Linked DNA regions of Homo sapiens: region 1 is linked to region 2. The links are contacts of gene promoters, found by promoter capture Hi-C in human tissues and cell types (Jung and others, 2019). All regions are on one chromosome and are shown on one strand. The core of a region is centred on a gene start or on the middle of the fragment in contact, and the rest is flanking DNA. Distances in the headings are between cores, read along the strand shown. Region 1 has its middle 88 kb from the start of KCNAB1. Region 2 holds the start of SSR3 (signal sequence receptor subunit 3).

Region 1 (4,272 bases), core at 523-3,022, 520 kb before region 2:
AATGAAATTGCTTCAAATGTAATTCAATACAAATTTACTAAGCATCTACTATAAATCCAACTCTGGGTTAAACATTGCAAAAATAAGGCCACTGCCCCTAATTAACTGAGCAAATATTTGTTGAGAACAGTAGCATATGTGCATAGGAACTGCGGATACGTCAGTGTGCAAAACAGAACAAATCCCAGCCTAATGGGATTAACATTTCAATGGAAGGAAGTAGGCAACAAACAAGACAAATAGAGACATTATACTGTATCTTAAAGGATGTTAATGTCAGGGAGAAACAAATAGCAGGACTGAGATAGGGAGTGCTGTGGGAGTGTTGCACTGAAATTCCATATAGCGTAGTCAGGGAAGGCCTCGCTAGAGTGACATTTGAACAGAAATTCAAATGAAAGTGTGTTCATGCATTATCTAGGGGAAGAATATTTCCAGCACAGGGAACAGCACCTTCTAAACCCTGAGGCGCGTGTGGCTGGCACTTTGGAGGAACAGAAAAGAAGTCAATGTGGCTGGAAAGAGTGAAAGAGAGGGAGAGCAGGAAAGGAGGTGAGAGAGGTTAGAGAGGGACAGATCATGCAGGGCCCTGTTGGCTTTTGAAGGACTTTGGTTTTCACACTGAGTGAGAAGGGAAACCCTGAAAATCTTGACAGAGGAGGGCCATGATCTGACTCAGGTATCATTGTTTGCCATACTGCAAATCAGTGGAAGGAGTGGGGTGGAGGGGCAAGAACAGAACCAAGGAGACTGTTAAAAGACCATAAAATCATCCAAAATAATGAAGGTAGCTTGGCCCAGGATAGATGTGATGGAGGTGGCAAAAAGTCATTAGATTCTGGATATCTTATGGATATCTTATAGGTAGAAGACATCAAATCTGCTGACGGATTGGACCTGGAAGTGTTACATGAAACAATTAGAGGACAATACAAATAATGATTTAAGTCATAATGGTAAACTGAGTCTGGTGGTTGGTGAGAAGGTGGACTTGAGTGGAAGAGAGGGTCCATACAGGCAAGTAATATCAGGTTGGAGATGATGGATAGGAATGGTGGTGTTGATGACAGAAATGAGGAATAGGGTTTATGGGATAGTTTTGTACGTGTTGAACTTGAGGTGATGGTGGAATCTTAATGTAGGAACATATGGGAAGTTTAGAATATGGAATTAAATAGAGATCAGGTGGGAAAGGTTGGTGTTAGAGATCAAAATTTGGGAGTACTTCTATAGAGATACTGGTTGAAGACAAGAGAATGAAGGACCTGCTTTACAGTAAGAGAGAAAACCAGAGGACCAAGGACCAAACCCAGGACCCAAGGGAAGCCAAGGTAGCTTGCGTTTCAAAGAGGGGCTGATCAAAAGTGTCAAGTATTGAAGAAAGCTGAAGGAAAATGTGGCCAGAGGAAAATCTCTCAGACATGGCAAGAAGAGTTTTAGTGAGGTGAGTGAGTTGGCAGCTAGATCACAGAGGTTGAGAAGGGAAGGAATACTGAGAAATGGAACAAAAAGGTATCAGCTCATTGTTAATGATACTAATGGGCCAGGTGCCGTGGCTCGCGCCTGTAATCCCAGCACTTTGGGAGGCCGAGGCAGGTGGATCACAAGGTCAGAAATTCGAGACCATCTTGGCTAACACGGTGAAACCCCGTTTCTACTAAAAATACAAAAAATTAGCTGGGTGTGGTGGTGGGCACCTGTAGTCCCAGCTACTCGGGAGGCTGAGGCAGGAGAATGGCATGAACCCGGGAGGCGGAGCTTGCAGTGAGCCGAGATGGTGCCACTGCACTCCAGCCTGGGCAACAGAGGAAAAAAAAATGATAATAGTAATCATAAGGTAATATCGAGAGTTCTTTCCAGAAGACTGGATCAGAGCAAGGAATTCTAGTTCATTCTGTGATGATTTTATTGTTCATCTTTCAGAATTTGAGAATGCCTTGCTATCACTCCTTCCTGTAATAGCTACTCCTTAAGGTGCATTTAAAATATGATTTTACAGATACATATGTATAAAACATATAAGAAGCTTATCTATTGTGTATACATACTTCTGTAATGTTATGTACCATAACCTAGCTCAGAGATTGGTAATATTTTCTATGTTATTTAATTCAGATTTACTCTGGAAAACTCAACATATGAAAATTCTGATTTCTAAAATAAATATAAGTGTAATCATGCATCTTCCAAAATGATTCTTTGCTTAATGGAAAAGCATTTTGTTTCTTAAACAGGAAACTCCCTAATGGATTAAGAAACAAACTATTTACAAACCTTGCATTTATTCTGGGTTTCAAGGTACACATCCATGTAGAATGTAAAAGGAGGCCTGTGTTTACTACTGAGATTTTGAAATTCGTTTAGCAAGAAAATATTTCAATGCTATGCCTTGTCTGCTTTTCCTTTTGCCCTCCCCATTTTTCTGATAAATCAGATCTTTCACTGTTCTTTTCTACTGACCCTTCATGACACAGCTTTGATTTTAAGACTACTTTGGGATGACCTTGCAGAGGGAAAATATTTTTTAGGCTTTCAAGATGATTCTTGGAATCATAGGTCCTTCACAAGCAGGAACAGACCTGTCAAATGATCTCATCCCCAGAGTCCTGTAGGCATGGAGCCTGGTCTGGATCCCCAAGGTTAGAAAGAAGAGGCTTAGAATTAGCTTTGCATTTCTAGACTTAACACCGAGACTCTCCTTTAGCAAAATTCTTCTCTACGTTCTCCATGTTGTTATTTTCTTTGTTCATTATCTTCACTCAGGCATCCTGGGTTTCCCAGGAAATCGCAAAGCTTCCATGGAAATTCAAATGGAAACTTTCTCAGCCTCATGAGTACTAGAGACAAAGGGCTTTGTTAATACATCATGTTTGTCTTTGCTAGCTTCCCCATTCAGTGTGTACTGATGTGTGTCCTCCTGGGACTCGGAAGGGGATTCGTTCAGAGGGAACCAATATGCTGCTTTGACTCCATCCCATGTGCTGATGGACACGTGTCACGGAAACCAGGTTGAGATGGTAATTTCTTCATTGATATGAGGATGCTATTAGATCAAACATGTTTTTGCAAAGAAGGCCTAAGGAGCCTTCTTTATAAATAGGTATGAATAACTTATAACAAAAATAATTAAAATCCATCAAATTATTGGATGTTTTGTGCACTGTGAAAAAAACATAGTATTGTGTTTCAGTTCTAAAGCTGCTACAGTTGGGAAAATACCTACAACCTTGAAGTTAATAGAGGAAAATGCAAAATAAAATATATGAAATGTGAAATATGAGTAGGATTCATAAAAAATATTTAAAATTATTTGTTTCTGAAATAAATTAAATGCTAGTTATATTCATAATTGGAAGACAGGGGACTTATAGTACTATGTTTTATTGAATTAGCTCTAATTTGGAGTTATAAGATCTAAAATTTCATCTCTAAAGGCAATTGGCTTAAGGTCATAAGTACTCAAAGTTTGTAAGACATATGATTTCTGTAACTACTGCTCTATGAATTCTTCACTATGGCCTGCCAAATTGCTGCTCTTTATGACCAGAATTTTAATTGGGTTTAGTGTGCTCGGTCTTGTGAAACATGTTGGAGCAGGTTTATTTTTATCTCTACCTTCTGTTAAAGATAACACAAAGTGTACTTGTCTTTTGTCAAATGGCCCTCAATAGCAATTCTTTTCTTTTTTTTTTTTTTTTTGAGACGGAGTCTCGCTCTGTCGCCCAGGCGGGACTGCGGACTGCAGTGGCGCAATCTCGGCTCACTGCAAGCTCCGCTTCCCGGGTTCACGCCATTCTCCTGCCTCAGCCTCCCGAGTAGCTGGGACTACAGGCGCCCGCCACCGCGCCCGGCTAATTTTTTTTGTATTTTTAGTAGAGACGGGGTTTCACCTTGTTAGCCAGGATGGTCTCGATCTCCTGACCTCATGATCCACCCGCCTCGGCCTCCCAAAGCAATTCTTTATAAAAGAATTTTGAGGGCCAGGCGCAGTGGCTCACGCCTGTAATCCCAGCACTTTAGGAGGCCGAGGAGGGCGGACACGAGGTCAGGAGATTGAGACCATCCTGGCTAACACGGTGAAACCCCGTTCTCTACTAAAAAAATACAAAAAATTACCGGGCGCGGTGGCAGGCGCCTGTGTCCCAGCTACTCGGGAGGCTGAGGCAGAAGAATGGTGTGAACTCGAGAGGCGGAGCTTGCATTGAGCTGAGATGGCGCCACTGCACTCCAGCTTGAGCGACAGAGCGAGACTCCGTCTCGGGAAAAAAAAAA
Region 2 (3,976 bases), core at 1,268-3,767:
TACTAAGTCTCAGTGAAATTCCAATTGCCTTTTAAGAAATTACTTTCAAAGCAATACAGCACCTAGATGACCCCATCAAGGAAGGAGGGAAATAATCCTGCTATCCCTACCCAAGTATCACAGTGTACATGAAAGCAACATCAAAGGGCGTCAATTAAACAATTTATACCACTTCCAATGAGACAATGAGGACCATGACGCTGAGAAATAATAAATGTTACCATCTTTCCTAAGTCTACGTGATCCTGCATTTTAACCTCTATGAAACTAGAATATTTAATTGCTTATAATTAAGGTATAAGTTTATTGTGGTGAGGCTTGAGTTTTCTTCTCTAAAAGCTGTATTTTACAGTATGTGTGATCTTAGACTATGTTAATCCTTTACATTTTATACACTTGTATGAAAACAAACGTAATTAGCATTGAAAATGACAGAGAGTTAAAAAAAAAAAAAAGCAATAAAATAAAAAGACCAGCCTGGTCAACATGGCCTGTCTCTACAAAAAAATTAGCTGGGCATGGTAGCCTGCACCTGTAGGCCCAGCTACTTGGGAGGCTGAGGTGGGAGGATCCCTTGAGCCTGGGAAGGTTGAGGCTGCAGTGAACCATAATCATGCCACTGCACTGCAGACTGGGCAAGAACTAGACCTTGTCTCAAAAAATAATAATGACAAAAAGATCATTTCTTTAACTTCCAAAAATAGTACGTGAAGAGCCCAGAACAATTCTCTCCATAAGGAATTACATTTAGCTTCTGAAATGTTAACTTACTTGGTGGGTTTGTTTCTCTGATGAACCTCATATTAAGGCCTGTGTTTAAGTGTTCTAATTCCACCCTCAAAATCTGCTTCTGTAGCCGTGTCAGAATGATCATTGTCTCTACTTCAGTTAGTTAATAATTCTTCCTAGCATCAATGTTCCTTTCCCCCAAAATGTTTATTAATATATATATCTCAAATTAATGCTTATTAAAACCAACACACACAAATGATCTTTAAGAAGACATATAAAAATATAACATGTAGTACGTACTTTCACTTGAAAAACATACTTACTTGTGCTTGAGAACAAATTTCACATTCTTGTATGCAAAGGCTACCAAATATGTGCTTACTAGGGTCATCACACTATACAAAACAGCAGACTGAATAAGATCCATATGCCATATTCGCCAGTATAACCCTGAATTAAAATAAAAGGGGGAAGGGTACAAAAAGAAGCAAAACATTACAACCCCGCAACAAAAGCCTGCGAAATTAATTATAGCTAAGCCTGGTAAAATACCAGGTTATTAGTTATGCAATCCAATAGTATCTGAGGATCTTCAGAAGCGAGATAACCAGTAACAGTATAGTCTCAAGCTTTCCAGTTCAGAACATTTGAAAAACATCACCTTCCTATTACTAGTCCAGATGAGATTTCAACTTCTAAAATGAGAACAAACTCTGGCTCAACGTAATCACAAGTCAGACTTCAAATTTCATTCATCAGGGTACTAGCATGCGAAACACAGGCCATTCCAAAATGCCACGTGCAGCCCCAAACCATAGTTTCCTTGCTGACGTGGCTGTTATCAGAACTCCAAGCAGTGCTATGTCCAATTAGTGAGCCATCATATGGCTTCACATCACGTTAATGGCACGCTGGGTTGTATAAGGACAAAAGAGAAAAATACATTTAGTTTTAAATGCCCAACAACAGTGCAGCAAAAGACAGGAGTTCTGGAAACTTGAGCTCTACTAAAAACGACCTTGTCCAAGTCTGCAGTTTCCCAACCAAGTGAGAATTCTAGAATTGGTCCAGTAGGATTATTAAAAAGTATAAATAAGGTAGATCCCTAACCCCTGGCACTTCAACCTCTCTCTTTTTGCAAAAACCAGGAAAATTATGCAATGGTGTGAAGTAGCTCACGTAAAGATGCACTTATAATTCAGTGGGTCACTTCATGGGTTTCTCACCTAACTAATTTATGCAAAATAAGTAATAAGTTTAAAATTTCGTAACGGCAAGCAACAGTTGTATAGAAAAGGGCAGAGGCAGTATGCTTGAGTTTGTCTGTTTAAATAGAGATTCGGGGCCGCCACCCCAGAACTAGTTAACCACCTTCTCCTGGGGTGGAGCTCGGGAACGTGCGTACTTTTAACAAGTGACCTCCCCGAGTGCTGCACAGGACAATCCCAAGCGACAACACTGTGCCCAAAGAAGAGGCTCCGTGCCTCCCCGAGCTCAGGGGAGCTGGAGAGATTGCCGACCCCCGGCCGGCACCCACGCCTTCCCTGCTCGCCGGGTCCTGCCACGTCCCCGCCCAGCCCGACTAGCCGGCGGCCTGCCTAACCCGCCTCGCTCCCAGCACTCACAGATGGGGATGGCAGACACGATGAACGCGTTTCCGAAGAAGAGCGCGGAGGACTTGGCCGAGAGATTGCGGCTGAAATCCTGCAGGAGCAGGTCCTCCTCAGACTGCTGTTTGGAGCTGCCTTTAGGAGCCATGGCGGAGCTGCAGGCGAGAACAGGGAACGTAGAGCCGGCCGCCAAGGCGGGCAAAGGCCCTTGACTCCGCCCCTGCGGCCGCCGTATCCGCTAACGACCCGTCAGCGCGGCGCGCGGAGGCGGGACCCGGTTTGGCGAAGAGCAAGCGTCCCCAGGATTGGCCAGCTTGGCGCCACTAGATAGGCTTCCGGGCGTGATTGGGCGAGCGGGCCAGACTTCCGGATTCCTGACAAGCCACGTGACCCACCCACCTGGAGGAGAGAGAAGGGATTTGTAGTTTAGTCGGTGCTTTAAAAAAAATTAACAAAACTTTATTGATATTCCACTTCAGAGCTGCTGACAGACTCACGAGTTCTCAGTTCTTCAGAATTCCAAAATTAAAAGCTCTTCTGGCCCCACGCCATTAGTGCCCTCTGTGCGTACCCAGGACTGAGTACGTTGAAGAAGAAAGAAGAGAAAGGTATAGCTAACTCATGTAAAATCCCTTCTCCTTTACACATCCTTTATTTCATTAAATACCTTGAAGAATCTTATGACGTGCGCATCATTACCGCCATTGCAGCTGAAGAGCCTGAGGGTCGTAGACCTGCGGTGTGGGTCTCCAAGGCGTGGGCTCTTTTCACTAAACAATAGGCCACCTCTGTAGGAAGAAGAAAATGGGACTCTTGCTTTTAAGAAACTCATGATCTCATTGATGAAGGCAATATTTAATATATGTCTGATACAAGTTACTACTATTTTATTTTATTTCAACTAGACCTATAGAGTTTTGTGGCTTCCAAAGCCATGCTAAATAAAACATAATACTAAGAACAGGTTGGCTAGGCAAGACTCCCTCTCTGAAGCTCAGAAGGATTAAGTATGTCTATTAAAACAGCTAGATTCCATTTTTAACTCAACACATTATCATTTTTTCTTCAAAAAAAAATTCAACCACATCACTCCCAGCAAATGCTACTTTTGATTACTGAGAACACTCTAGTGCATTAGGCACAATTTCCTCAACCTCCAGCCTCCTTATTAACCGTTTGGTAGATATCTTTCTTCCTCACAGTATCCAAATTGTAATCTACCTCCACAGCTTCCTATTACTAGTCCTAATTGGGCTTTTGTCTTCAATCTTTTCCAGTCTATTCTCTATACAGGTACCAGAGTGAGTTTTCCTGAAATATAAATCCTTCCATTATCTACCGCAAGTGTTCCTTAATGCCAGAAGTTTTCATTAATTCACCACAAAATGAAAAAGAAAAAAAGACCATCTAGTGAATTTTTCAGAAAATCAAAAGTATTCATTTAAAAATATCTGGGTTTATGTCTTTTTTGATGTTAAAAATGCTCTTTATTTTATTACATGGTAGTGATAGAAGAAGAAATTATTATTTTCTCTTACACATACTCCTCCCCCAGTTTTTCCTATCTCACTAAGTTGCATTCTTTTAAACTCATTTGTTGTTCTGGTTAAAATAGTGGGTTTCAACACTAATTA

What was found. The method cuts DNA at HindIII sites, captures the fragments that hold promoters and counts their contacts. A contact is called where the count stands out against the background at its distance.
Region 1: a contact is called between a fragment that was not itself captured here and the fragment with the promoter of SSR3 in region 2, in 1 of the 25 tissues and cell types used here (dorsolateral prefrontal cortex).

What each region holds. Positions count from the first base shown.
Region 1 is chr3:156,030,696-156,034,967 of GRCh38, forward strand. It overlaps the pseudogene VN2R1P. Among named protein-coding and RNA genes, the nearest start is that of KCNAB1, 88 kb to the right of the region's middle. The HindIII fragment of the contact is 4,954 bases long and covers 1-4,249 here.
Region 2 is chr3:156,552,600-156,556,575 of GRCh38, forward strand. It overlaps SSR3 (signal sequence receptor subunit 3), which reads right to left and starts at 2,518. Exons shown (of 5, transcript NM_007107.5): 1 at 2,358-2,518; 2 at 1,056-1,182. The coding sequence starts at 2,490. RefSeq lists an enhancer at 2,377-2,456. The HindIII fragment of the contact is 9,549 bases long and covers 1-3,976 here.